Regions from separate parts of the Homo sapiens genome. Here region 1 is linked to region 2. Evidence: promoter capture Hi-C in 16 types of primary human blood cells and fetal thymus (Javierre and others, 2016). All regions are on one chromosome and are shown on one strand. The core of a region is centred on a gene start or on the middle of the fragment in contact, and the rest is flanking DNA. Distances in the headings are between cores, read along the strand shown. Region 1 overlaps DUS2 (dihydrouridine synthase 2). Region 2 holds the start of LCAT (lecithin-cholesterol acyltransferase).

Region 1 (5,343 bases), core at 100-2,599, 85 kb after region 2:
ACAGTGAAGAAGGCATATTGACAGATAGTTGCTCTTCTATTAATAGTTGCCAGGATAGCTCCATGCCAGGACAGGAATGAGCTCAGAGATGCCTTTACCCTGTTTTGGGAGATGTTGGTCAGAGAAGGCTTCCAGGAGGAGGTGATGAGGTTCTAAAAGTCTACAGGGAGTCAGCCAGGTGGAAGAATAGGGACGTGGCCCCTGGGCAGGGACAGCTTGTTCAGAGATCCCATACTGAGAGAGAGCAGGCCAGGCTGGGGAACTAGAAATATTTAAGAATAGCTGAAGCTTAGCATGGGGGAGTTCTGAGGGCAGGAGGCAGGTGATGAAAGAGGCTTCTATGGAAGGTGGAGACCAGACCTTATATTTACTGTGTTAAAGAGTGTAGACTTAATTTTACAGGCAGTAGGGAAGGCGTCCAGAAATGGAACTATCATGTTTTGCGTATCATATCTTTGCGTTTGGAAAGAGCCCTTTGGCTGGAAGGAGCATGGATTGGAAGTGATAAGCCTGGAGGCAGAGAGACTGGTTTGGAGACTGTTGTCATGGTTCAGTTGATAGATGATGGCAGTTGTAGAGCTGAGAAGCTCTTTGAGGTTAAGAGCTTAGTGCTTTCCGTGTCTTTATACCTCACACGCTGCCTTGATCTTAAAAGAGCTAGCAGATGTTTGTCGATATAACAACATAATAATAGACGTTAGAGGCCAGGCGCGGTGGCTCACACCTGTAATCCCAGCACTTTGGGAGGCCAAGGCGGGTGAATCACGAAGTCAGGAGTTTGAGACCAGTCTGGCCAACATGGTGAAACCCCATCCCTACTAAAAAAAAATACAAAAAATTAGCTGGGCGTGGTGGTGGGCACCTGTAATCCCAGCTACTCGAGAGGCTGAGGCAAGAGAATTGCTTGAACCCGGGAGGCGGAGGTTGCAGTGAGCTGAGATCACGCCACTGCACTCCATCCTGGGAGACAGTAGGAGACTCCGTCTCAAAACAAACAAACAAACAAAAAATAGAGTGTTGAAACCGTGAAAGCATGATGAGAGTGGCTAACATTTATTAAGCCTTTACTATGTGCTGAGAACTGTGGTACACCATGGAATTCACTCTTCACAGCATTTCCTTTGACTCCCATAGTGGAGCCTCATATTCCACAAGGAGAAGCTGAGGCTCAGCTGGGTTAATTAATGTGCCCGAGGCACAGCTGGGATTCAAGTGAAGGTCTGTCCAATTCCAGAGCTCAGGATCTTAACTATGAAATGCTGTATCAGGGCTGGGCACAGTGGGTCACGCCTGATTCCAGCACTTCAGAAGGTTAGGCAGGAGGATCGCTAGAGGCCAGGAGTTGGAGACTAGCCTGAGCAACATAGCAAGACTGTATCGCTACAGAAAAATTTAAACACAAAATTAGCTAGATGTGGTGGAACATGCCTGTAGTCCCAGTTACTCCGGATGCTGAGATGGGAGGATCACTAGAGCCCAGGAGTTTGGGACTGCAGTGAGCCATGATTGTGCCGCTGCACTCCAGCCTGGGCAACACAGCAAGGTCCCATCTCTAAAAAAAAAAAGCTATATCACCTCTTTCTCCTCAAATCTAACAAATCATTTTTACTTTTTGTCATGTGCATGTATTTTGTTTTCTGTTTTTAATTTTTGTTTTTAATTTTTATTTTTAATAGAGATGGGGTCTTACTATGTTGCCCTGACTGGTCTTGAACTCTTGGGCTCAAATGATCCTCTTGCCTCAACCTCCCAGTGTTAGGATTACAGGTGTGAGCTACCACACCTGGTGTATTTACACTTTTTTTATTTTTTTGAGGCAGAGTCTTGCTCCAATTTCCAGGCTGGAGTGCAGTGATACGATCTTGGCTCACTGCAGCCTCCACCTCACAAGTTCAAGTGATTCTCCTGCCTCAGCCCCCCAAGTAGGTGGGATAACAGGCCTGCACCACCATACCCGGCTAATTTTTGTATTTTTTGGTATAGATGGGGTTTGCCATGTTGCCCAGGCTGGTCTTGAACTACTGAGCTCAGGTAATCTGCCCACCTTGGCCTCCCAAAGTGTTGGGATTATAGGCATGAGCCACTGGACCCAGCCACATGTTCAGATTAGGAAATAAGATAATTCTGTAAATACTTGATTCTAGTTGACTTTCCAAATTTGAATTTTAGAGCTGGATGCAGTGGCTCACGCCTGTAATCCCAACACTTTGGGAGGCTGAGGCAGGTGGAGTACCTAGGACCACAGGTGTGTACCACCATGCCCCGCTAATTTTTTGTAGAGGTGGTGTCTTATTATGTTGCCTGGGCTGGTCTTGAACTCCTGGCCTCAAACGATCCTCCCGCCTCAGCCTCCCAAAGTGCTGGGATTACAGGTGTGAGCCACCATGCCTGGCCAGAAATTGCTTTTTAAGCAAGCTTTGTCTTTGGGGAAAATTGACAGGGAAGGGAATGGTAAAGTTTGTTTATACTCATTATTTTTCCTGAATAGTGTTATGTTCAATCTGAAAGCACTATAATTAATGGGATTATGAAAGTTGCAGATACCAGGATGAAACCGCTTTTGTCAAAATAGGACAAGGAAGGTGTGAAGTAGAGGAAGCTCATGCTTACATGTCTGAGATAAGAACTGTTTCCAAGGATTTTCTAAAAACCCCACCGGAGGCCAGGAGTGGTGACTCACATCTGCAATCCCAGCACTTTGGGAGGCTGAGGCGGGTGGATCACTTGAGGTCAGGAGTTCAAGACGAGTCTGGCCAACATGGTGAAACCCCGTCTCTACTGAAAACACAAAAATTGGCCGGGCATGGTGGTTAATTTTTGTCCCAGCTAATCAGGAGGCTGAGGCAGGAGAATTGCTCGAACCTCGGAGGTGGAGATTGCAGTGAGCCAAGATCATGCCACTGTACTCTAGCCTGGGTGACAGAGTGAGACTCCATCTCAAAAAATAAATAAATAAATAAATAAAAACCCACTAGAAATCCCTTCATGTCTTTCTTGAATTACCTGCTTTGCATGGCTTGCATGTTTTGCATATGTATATATATTTCTATGACAAAAGTTTATCAGTAGACATTTTGGTTTTCTTTTTCTTTTTTTTGGAGACAGGGCCTTGCTCTGTCACCCAGGCTGGAGTACAGTTGCACAATCATGGCTCACTGCTGCATCGAACTCTTGGACTCCCAATGATTCTTCTGCTTAAGCCTCCCAGAGTGGCTGGGACTGCAGGCACCTTCCATCACTCCTGGCTAGTTAAAAAATATATATATATTTTTGGTAGAGATGGGATCTTGCTATGTTGCCCAGGCTGGTCCCAAACTCCTGGCCTTGAGTGATCCTCCTGCCTTGGCCTCCCAAAGTGATGGGATTACAGGTGTGAGCCACCTTGCCTGGCATAGACATTTTTTAGGACTATTGTAATTCAGATAAAATGCTCTGGAAAGAATACTTGCCCAGTAATGGCATCTCCACCAGTGAACTGAAGACAACTCTGGCTTTGATCCTCTAGGAAACTCATGAACTCTTTTTTTTCTTTTTTGGAGATGAGTCTCGCTCTGTCACCAGGCTGGAATGCAGTGGCGTGATCTCTCACTGCAACCTCTGCCTCCCGGGTTCAAGCGATTCTCCTGCCTCAGCTTCCTGAGTAGCTGCGACTACAGGCATGCGCCGCCACACCCAGCTAATTTTTGTATTTTTAGTAGAGACGGGGTTTCACCATGTTGGCCAGGATGGTCTTGATCTCTTTACCTCGTGATCCGCCTGCCTTGGCCTCCCAAAGTGCTAGGATTACAGGCATGAGCCACTGTGTCTGGCCATGAACTCTGTTTCTAAGCAACTTATATAAATCTCTCCCTTTCTGCCAATAAAAGCTTCCTTTTCCCCTTCTGTCACCAGATGTACTTGTGGCTTGCCCTTCTGTGCATCCTGGATTATAATCCTTTTCTCTCATTCTCAAATAAACTCAACATGTTTGGAGGTATTTTTCTTTAATGTCTTTTTTTTTTAAGGTTAACAGGATATTATGTCCATGTAACTGAAGTTAAGGTTATTATTTTTTATTTTTTGAGATGGAATCTCACTCTGTTGCCCAGGCTGGAGGGCAGTGGTGCGATCTTGGCTAACTGCAACCTCTGCCTCCCTGGTTTGAGTGATTCTCCTGCTTCAGCCTCCCGAGTAGCTGGGATTGCAGGTGCACACCACCATGCCTGGCTAATTTTTTTATTTTTAGTAGAGACAGGGTTTCATCATGTTGGCCAGGCTGGTCTGGAACTCCTGATCTCAGGTGATCCTCCTGCCTTGGCCTCCCAAAGTGCTGGGATTATAGGCATGAGCCACCTCGCCCAGCCAAGGTTACTGTCTAAGAAATTGAGCGTAATAGAGGAGACCAGCCCTTAAAAGGAATGGTAGAAGAGATTGGAAATGAGTGACTAAAGTGGTGATGTGGGTGTGATCTCAGGGTGGGGTGAGTGGTTGTGGCAGTAACTGGGAAAGGCATGGGGGCTGCCTAGTTTTTCTCAGAGGAGCCTCCTTAGAGGCAGGGTGTGTCAGGCACCTCTGACTGAGTGCCAGAGGAAGTTGCCAGACCAACCACCCTACAAGAGGCTGTCCTCTTGGCTACCACAGTGGTAAGTATTCAGTCACACCTTACTAAGCAGCCTCTAAAGGTCATGTACCTGGCTCAGTGCTAGAAATCTGGCAGTGAACTAAGCAGCCACACTCCTGTTCTTGTAGAGCTTGTTGTCCTGGTGGTCTCCAGGAGGAGCTGAGGATTGAACAAGAAACTACAGCAGTCAGTGTGGACACATGGAGTGTAACTGAGCTGCAGAGAAATGTAGGGTGTTTGGAAAGCATGGGACCAGGGACCTGAATTTGATTTTCTGTAGGGACGTATCTTCACAAAGGGGGCATTCAAGGACAAGGGGACCTTAGCATGGGCATGCATGACTGAGTTGGAGGAGTATTCCAGACAGAACTGCAAGTGGGCAGGCCCCAGGGAAGCAGACAGTTTGGTGTGGGAGACTTTAAAGGAAGGCCAGGGTGGCCGGGCACAGTGGCTCACACCTGTAATCCCAGCTCTTTGGAAGGCCAAAGTGGGTGGATCACCTGAGGTCAGGAGTTAGCTGGGTGTGGTGGTGGGTGCCTGTAATCCCAGCTACTCGGGAGGCTGAGGCAGGAGGCTGAACCTGGGAGGTGGAGGTTGCAGTGAGCTAAGATTGCGCCACTGCACTCCAGCCTGGGCAACAGAGTGAGACTCCATCTCAAAAAAAAAAAAAAAAAAAAAAAGGGAATGCCAGGGTGGCCAGGGCCGAGAGGGAGGGTGAGAGAGACACAGGTGAGGGTGAGGCT
Region 2 (5,891 bases), core at 1-2,500:
TGCTGCTGTCCAGGTACTCCACAGAGTAGGTCTTGCCAAAGCCAGGGACGCGGATCTGGACACCAGGGGCGTTGGACACGAGCCCAGAGCTCCGGTTGTAGACAACCCTGCGGGGCGGGGGTGCCACTCAGCAGCCAGTAGCCAAGGGGCAGCGTGTTGGGGCTAGGGTGGAGCACATGGCTGTACCTGGTGTTATCGATCCAGCAGTCTACCCCAAGGGGTAGGAACATGTTGAGATCCAGCCAGATGGTGAAGAAGTCCTCTGTCTTGCGGTAGCACATCCAGTTCACCACATCTGGTTTGTCCAGCTTGGCTTCTAGCTGATTCCCCAGGCAGCCGGGCACTGTGAGCAGCAGCCCTCACTCTGGACTCTGGATTCCCCCCGTGACCCTTACCCCCGTCACCCCAGATGCTGCAGTGACCAGACCCACCCCCCACCTCCCATACCCTCAACCCCCAGGTACAAAGCACACTTACCCTCCCCTGCTTACACCCCCTCTCCCTGCTGTCCCCCCAGTAGCCAAAGCCCAGGCTTCCCTGAGGAAGGGAAGGCGCTGAGGTGCTGAGGCCAAGGCCGCTGACCCCTGCCTCTGCAGAGCAAACACCCAGTCTGGCGCTCCTTTATTGCCAAAGTCCAAGGTGGGAACAGATAGGTCTGGGGGCATGGGGGCTGGGCCTAATAGGGGCCGGGCATGGATGGGCCTCTCCTGCTCACCGATCCTGGGCTGGGCATCTTGTCCTTGGTGGGTGGGGGCCAAGGAAGGAGTGGTGGGGCTTGGCCCAGAGTCTGGTGTGGCTGTGACTGACCACAGCTTGTGATGCCCCAGCCAAGACCTCAGGCACACCCCGTCCCCCACTCCGCCCCCCCTGGGTTAGACAACTGAGAGTCACAGTGTGGTGGGAGAAGGGACGTCATTCCTCTAAGGGACAAGCTTTTGGCCCCTCCCCACACCAGGGCAGGTACTTATGTCGGGGCTTATGCAGGGCAGAAGGGCTTTGGCCAGGTCAGCTGCCAGGGGCTGGGGCCCAGGCTCCCCAGGGTCTGGCGTGGTGCATCAGGGGCCTGGTGGGGGCTTACCGAGGATGACGGGCCGTGTGTGGTTACTGAGCTCAGCCTTGGGCGTGGTGTGCGGGGGGAAGAGCACATTGAGGAGCCAGAAGGGGGCGGCAGGAGGGAGCAGCAGCCCCAGCAGCAGCGTCACCCACTGCCATGGGGAGCCGGGCGGCCCCATTCCAGCCCTGGTGCCTACTGCCAGAGAAAGCGGCACTGGGCTGTCCTTATCTGGTGTGGGAGTGGGAGGGGCCCTAGGGCCAGTGGGAGGGACGGCCTGGCCAGTGGGGGTTGTGGCCAGAGATTGCCGGAAAGGGGCACAGCCTCAGGGAGCCGGCTCTGGGCCTGGGTTCAGTTCCGCCTTCTTCTCTTGGCGCCAGGGGAAACAGAGCCGGGGCAGCAGGAGGCCCAGAACTACACAATGTTTTATTGAAAAAGTCAGGCCTCAGCTCAGCTGTCTCCATTCGGCTCAGCTTGGTGGGGGGCCCTGCCCATAGTAGACTGAGCCAGATCTTCCTGCAGGCAGCTGGGCTGGACTCCCTCCCTGGCTACCCTTCCCTTCGTCTCTGATGGTGACATCCAAACAATAAATATGCAATAAATAGCGCTCCTGGGCTGGGCCGGGCCGGCTGCCTTCAAACCCCACTCGGCCCCTACCAGTCTTCTCTGGCCAGGACAGGCCTACTGGGGTGCTAGATAGTAAAGTCCCCAAACATCCCAGGGTCCCACAAGACCTGGGATCCATCTCCATTTTGAGGCCCAGGCCTGGTTTCCAAGGAGACCTAGCAAAGCTGGGTCCAGGACAGGGCCAGGCAAGCAGGGCTGGCAGGTGGGTGCTGGGAAGAGGCTGTTACCCCAGACCACAGCTTGTTATGTCCTGGCCAAGACCTCGACTCCAGGCCACAAGATGACACTGGGCTCAGGAGTAGATGGTGATGACTTCACGGCCACCACCGCGCACCAACAGCACCCGCTCAAGGCCCTCGGTCAGCACCTCGAGGAACTCCATGTCTGCAGGGCCTCAAGTCAAGGAGGCAACAACAGAATCAACGGGCAACCCGGGCCACCTGGGCCATGCCCACCCAGGGGTGCCCAGGAGAGAAGCCGCTGGCTTGACCTCCCATGCTATCCACCTCCCAACTGCCTGCCTCTCCACAAAGGGATACAGTTCTCGTCGCCCTCACTGTTCCTGGGTGGGCCAGGCATGTTTAGGAGAACCAGGCGGGCGTCGTGGGAGCGCGTGACAATGACTTCATTGAGCTTCACAGCAGTGTGCATGCGCCGCACATTGGATTGGTCCCTACACGTAGTGTAGCCAGTCACAGGTCGCCATGAGCCATCCTGCAAGGAGGGTCCCCACCCCTGGCCCATCTAACACTACTTGTCTGCCCCACCCCACCTCCACCCCTAGATTCCAGTGCCGCTGGGGCTGTTTTTGCTGCACTCACGGCTTAATGTGCACCAGCTCCCGGAAATTGTCAGGGGCATGGCTGGGGTCCCAGGTCTCAGTCATGTACTTGTCCCTGGTCCACGTCATCTGGATCTTGTCAGCCCCCACTGCAGACTCATCTTCCTCGTCCGAGTACAGGCTCTCCAGCCGCAGGGCCGAGTGCCGATCCTTGACCAGCTGGGCCTGAGGACAATTGCAGGAGATAGCCTTGGTCCCATAGGAAAAGGGGGATGGGGCCTGTCTGGCCCAATGTGACCACCTTGCCTCCGGGAAATGAGCACTAGCTTGGGTAGGGCTGCGGTGAGTCATTCTGATTCCTCCGCACCCACCGATGCGGTCTCCAAAGGCCTGACCCTGCCACCCGCCCTGGCGTGAACCACAAAGGGCACTGACTTCTCGCTCCCGCTCAGTCTTGGTCAGTCTCATCTGCCGCAGCATCTGCGACCGCTGCTCCATCATCAGCGTCCGCTCGTAGGTGTATGCAGAGATGTCACTGTTATGCTGGGGACAGGGTTGGCCGTGAGGACCCAGCTGCACGGGACATGGTATCCACGGGGCCAGGGCAGGGCAGAGGGCTCACCATCTCCACCACCTCCACCTCGGCCTCAAGGCGCAGATGGTACAGAAAGACAGCCAGGTCCTTCTTCATCTGGATGCTGTTGTCATCCATCTGGGCCACTGTGAAGATGCGCATCCGGCACTTCCTCCAGACCTGAGGCAAGGGACCAGGTGGGCGGTTTGGTCACAGCTGCTCCTCCAAGGGCCTAGCCCCTCTCATCTGCACCCACCCCCTGGTCTACCTTATGCTGGCGCAGCAGGAAGGGCAGAAGCATGAGCATGCCACCATCGTGCACGATCCACCACACGTCTATGTGGCCCTCCAGGTAGCGCTCGTGGTTGCTGGGGTAGAAGGCGATGTTCTTGGGCACGAGCAGGGCCAGGTGGGCAGCCGTAGTGCAGCGCACGGTGTCTGGGGAGGAGGAGCACGGCTGACCACCAGTCTGTGGCCCTCCGCCCACTGCCACCTCACTTCACCCCTGCCCACCAGGCCCCAGGCCTTCACACACCAATGAAGGTCTTCCAGGCACGGGGGTCCTCGCTCTGTCGCCAGCCGTAGGGCCAGCCCAGCACCACGGAGTTATGCCGCATGCCTCCCAGGCCACAGGACTGGATGAGGTGGGCCAGCCCCTCCCGCACCTTGCTGGCCACCACCACCTGGCAGAAGCCCTTCACCTTCTCAATTTCCATCATGTTCTTGATGGTCTGTGGGGAACACACCCAGGGCCAATGGGAGGCCATCAGCTTCCTGCCTCTGGGCTCCCTCCCAAGGCCCCTCGGGAACAAAACGACTTTTGGGTGGAGGAGGGCCTGGGGGCAACAAGCTGCCTACCCAGAGGCCAAGTTTTCAAGATGGGACTGCTGGCTCCCCCTTGTGCCAGCTCTCAGGTGGCAGCAGTGCTGGCTGCCTGGCTGGCCACCCTGGCCAAGACTGGGCCCTCCCCTCCGTGCCAGCTGCAGTCCAGACCCCTGTAGTCTGGCTCAGCTCTCCCTCCCCAAAGCAAGTACCTGCTCGGCGGCCTGAGCCTCGCCATAGCTCTCCAAGAAGCTCCCCTGGATGACAGAACCAACAATGGTCAGGCCCTTGCCAGCCTTGAGCTGGGAGGCGAAGGTGAGGAGCCGCGGGTACTTCACGTGGAGGTCCTCGTCCAGCTTCAGCAGCACCAGCAGCTGCGGCCTGCAGTGGCCGGGTGGGGGGAGCCTGAGACCAGGGCCGGCCGTTCTAGGGAGCCCCTCCTCTTCTTCCCTTCTCGGGTCGTGGTCCCTGCAGGTTTGGGTAGCATGGCCCAGGAGGGTGCCCCGGGCAGCCCCAGGATGGGGAGCCGGCACCTCTCGACCCTCTGACCCCGACAGCGACCCCTAAGAACCTCTGCGCCCTGGCCAGGGTCTGGCGGGAACTCACCGCCAGTTCTTGGTGTGAGGAGGCCCCTCCTCCAGCCGCAACAGCGCGTAGCGGGCAGCGCTCAGGGACAGGCCTCGGATCCCGTCACCCCACTCCTTCTCAGCCCTGCAGATTCCACCACAGCTGGTGAGCCCCTGGTGCCGCCCAGGGGGTTCTGTCTATGTGGATGCGAGGTGGAGGGGTTCTGCCCCTCAAGACCACCCAGGGGTCCTGAGTTACAGTCCCCAGTCCTGGCACCCACGGTGGCCCAGCTCCCTGCCCACCCCAATGCCAGACCACCCTGCCTGCTCGGCCGGGCCCCCTCAGCTGGCAGAGGCCAGGTGGCAGTGCTCACTCACCCTTGGTACTCGATGTATTTGTAGATCATGCCGGCGATGAGCATGGCCACCAGGGCATAGTACCAGGAGGAGACAAACATAAGGGCCAGGCAGAGACTCATGCCCAGGAAGGACAGCGCCCTGGACGAGAGGGGAGGGCAGAGTCAGGGCAGGACCAGGAGGACCCCTGGCCACAGCCTGGCCCATGCCCTGGTAGCCCTGTCAGGTCCCGGGTGGGAGGTCCCAGGTGGGTGGTCAGGTCACTGGGTGTAAGACCTAGGTCCAGTCCCCCGCAGCCCTATAATCTCCCTCCCCACAGTGTTTCAAGAGCTCCCTACCCAGGAAACCCAAGCCTCACCCAGAATGAGGCTCCTGGCCTCCCCAGGGTCTCCCGTGTCAGAGGCATGGCTCACCAGTGATAGTACTTGAACCGGGGCCGCCAGTTGGGGGTCCTCAGGAGTGTCTGCACCGCACAGGCGAGGTTCACGAACAGGTAGCACATCAGAAAGAACCTGCGGCACAGAGGGCGGTTGGCGAAGAGCAGCCTCCTCGGCAGCTGGGGACCTGATGTCAGGCTGGGCCTGGCCCAGAAACGGGGCGTGGCCCGGCCCTGCCCTGCATGGCTCAGCAAGGTCTTCTCAACCTCATTGCTGCCACCTCCATGGCCTGAGGCAATGAGACTACTGTGGAGGAGTCCTCGGAGCCAGATCGCAGAGGATGGGCAAGGGTTTGCTGTTGGAGGAGGTAGGAAGGGGAGTAACAGGGCAGAGCTGAAGAGGGTGGTGCAGGGGCAGCAGGAAGAGCTCAGTGCCTGGAGACTCTAGGCCACATTCAGGCCTCTGGCCTGAGTGACCAGCTGGATGAGAGGCTGCCATGCATGAAGGGGAGGATGGAAGATAAGCTGGACCATTTGAATGCAACCAGTCAGAGATACTTAAGAGTCACTGCGGTGGGCGTGGGAGTCCCACGCATGGGCAGGGCCAGCTGCATGAGCCCTCCAGGAAGGCACCCGAGGACGGGTGCGCAGGAAGGCAGGAGGACCCACACAGGGCATGCCAGGGGGCAGGGGCTCCCAGCAGGAGGCCCGAGATAAAGGCTGAGATGTAGCCTCTG

The links. The method cuts DNA at HindIII sites, captures the fragments that hold promoters and counts their contacts. A CHiCAGO score of 5 or more calls a contact.
Region 1: a fragment that was not itself captured here is called in contact with the fragment with the promoter of LCAT in region 2 in 1 of 17 cell types (non-activated CD4 T cells); the score reaches 5.3 in non-activated CD4 T cells.

Annotation. Positions count from the first base shown.
Region 1 is chr16:68,027,652-68,032,994 of GRCh38, forward strand. All of the region lies in intron 2 of DUS2 (dihydrouridine synthase 2), which reads left to right. Among named protein-coding and RNA genes, the nearest start is that of DUS2, 7.0 kb to the left of the region's middle. The HindIII fragment of the contact is 2,127 bases long and covers 287-2,413 here.
Region 2 is chr16:67,942,870-67,948,760 of GRCh38, forward strand. LCAT (lecithin-cholesterol acyltransferase) reads right to left here and starts at 1,251. Exons shown (of 6, transcript NM_000229.2): 1 at 1,079-1,251; 2 at 187-343; 3 at 1-107. The coding sequence starts at 1,232. It overlaps SLC12A4 (solute carrier family 12 member 4), which reads right to left. Exons shown (of 24, transcript NM_005072.5): 14 at 5,192-5,290; 15 at 4,800-4,919; 16 at 4,462-4,566; 17 at 4,068-4,236; 18 at 3,569-3,764; 19 at 3,302-3,471; 20 at 3,082-3,213; 21 at 2,895-3,002; 22 at 2,500-2,684; 23 at 2,218-2,351; 24 at 605-2,062. The coding sequence ends at 1,971. RefSeq lists an enhancer at 1-382. The HindIII fragment of the contact is 31,685 bases long and covers 931-5,891 here.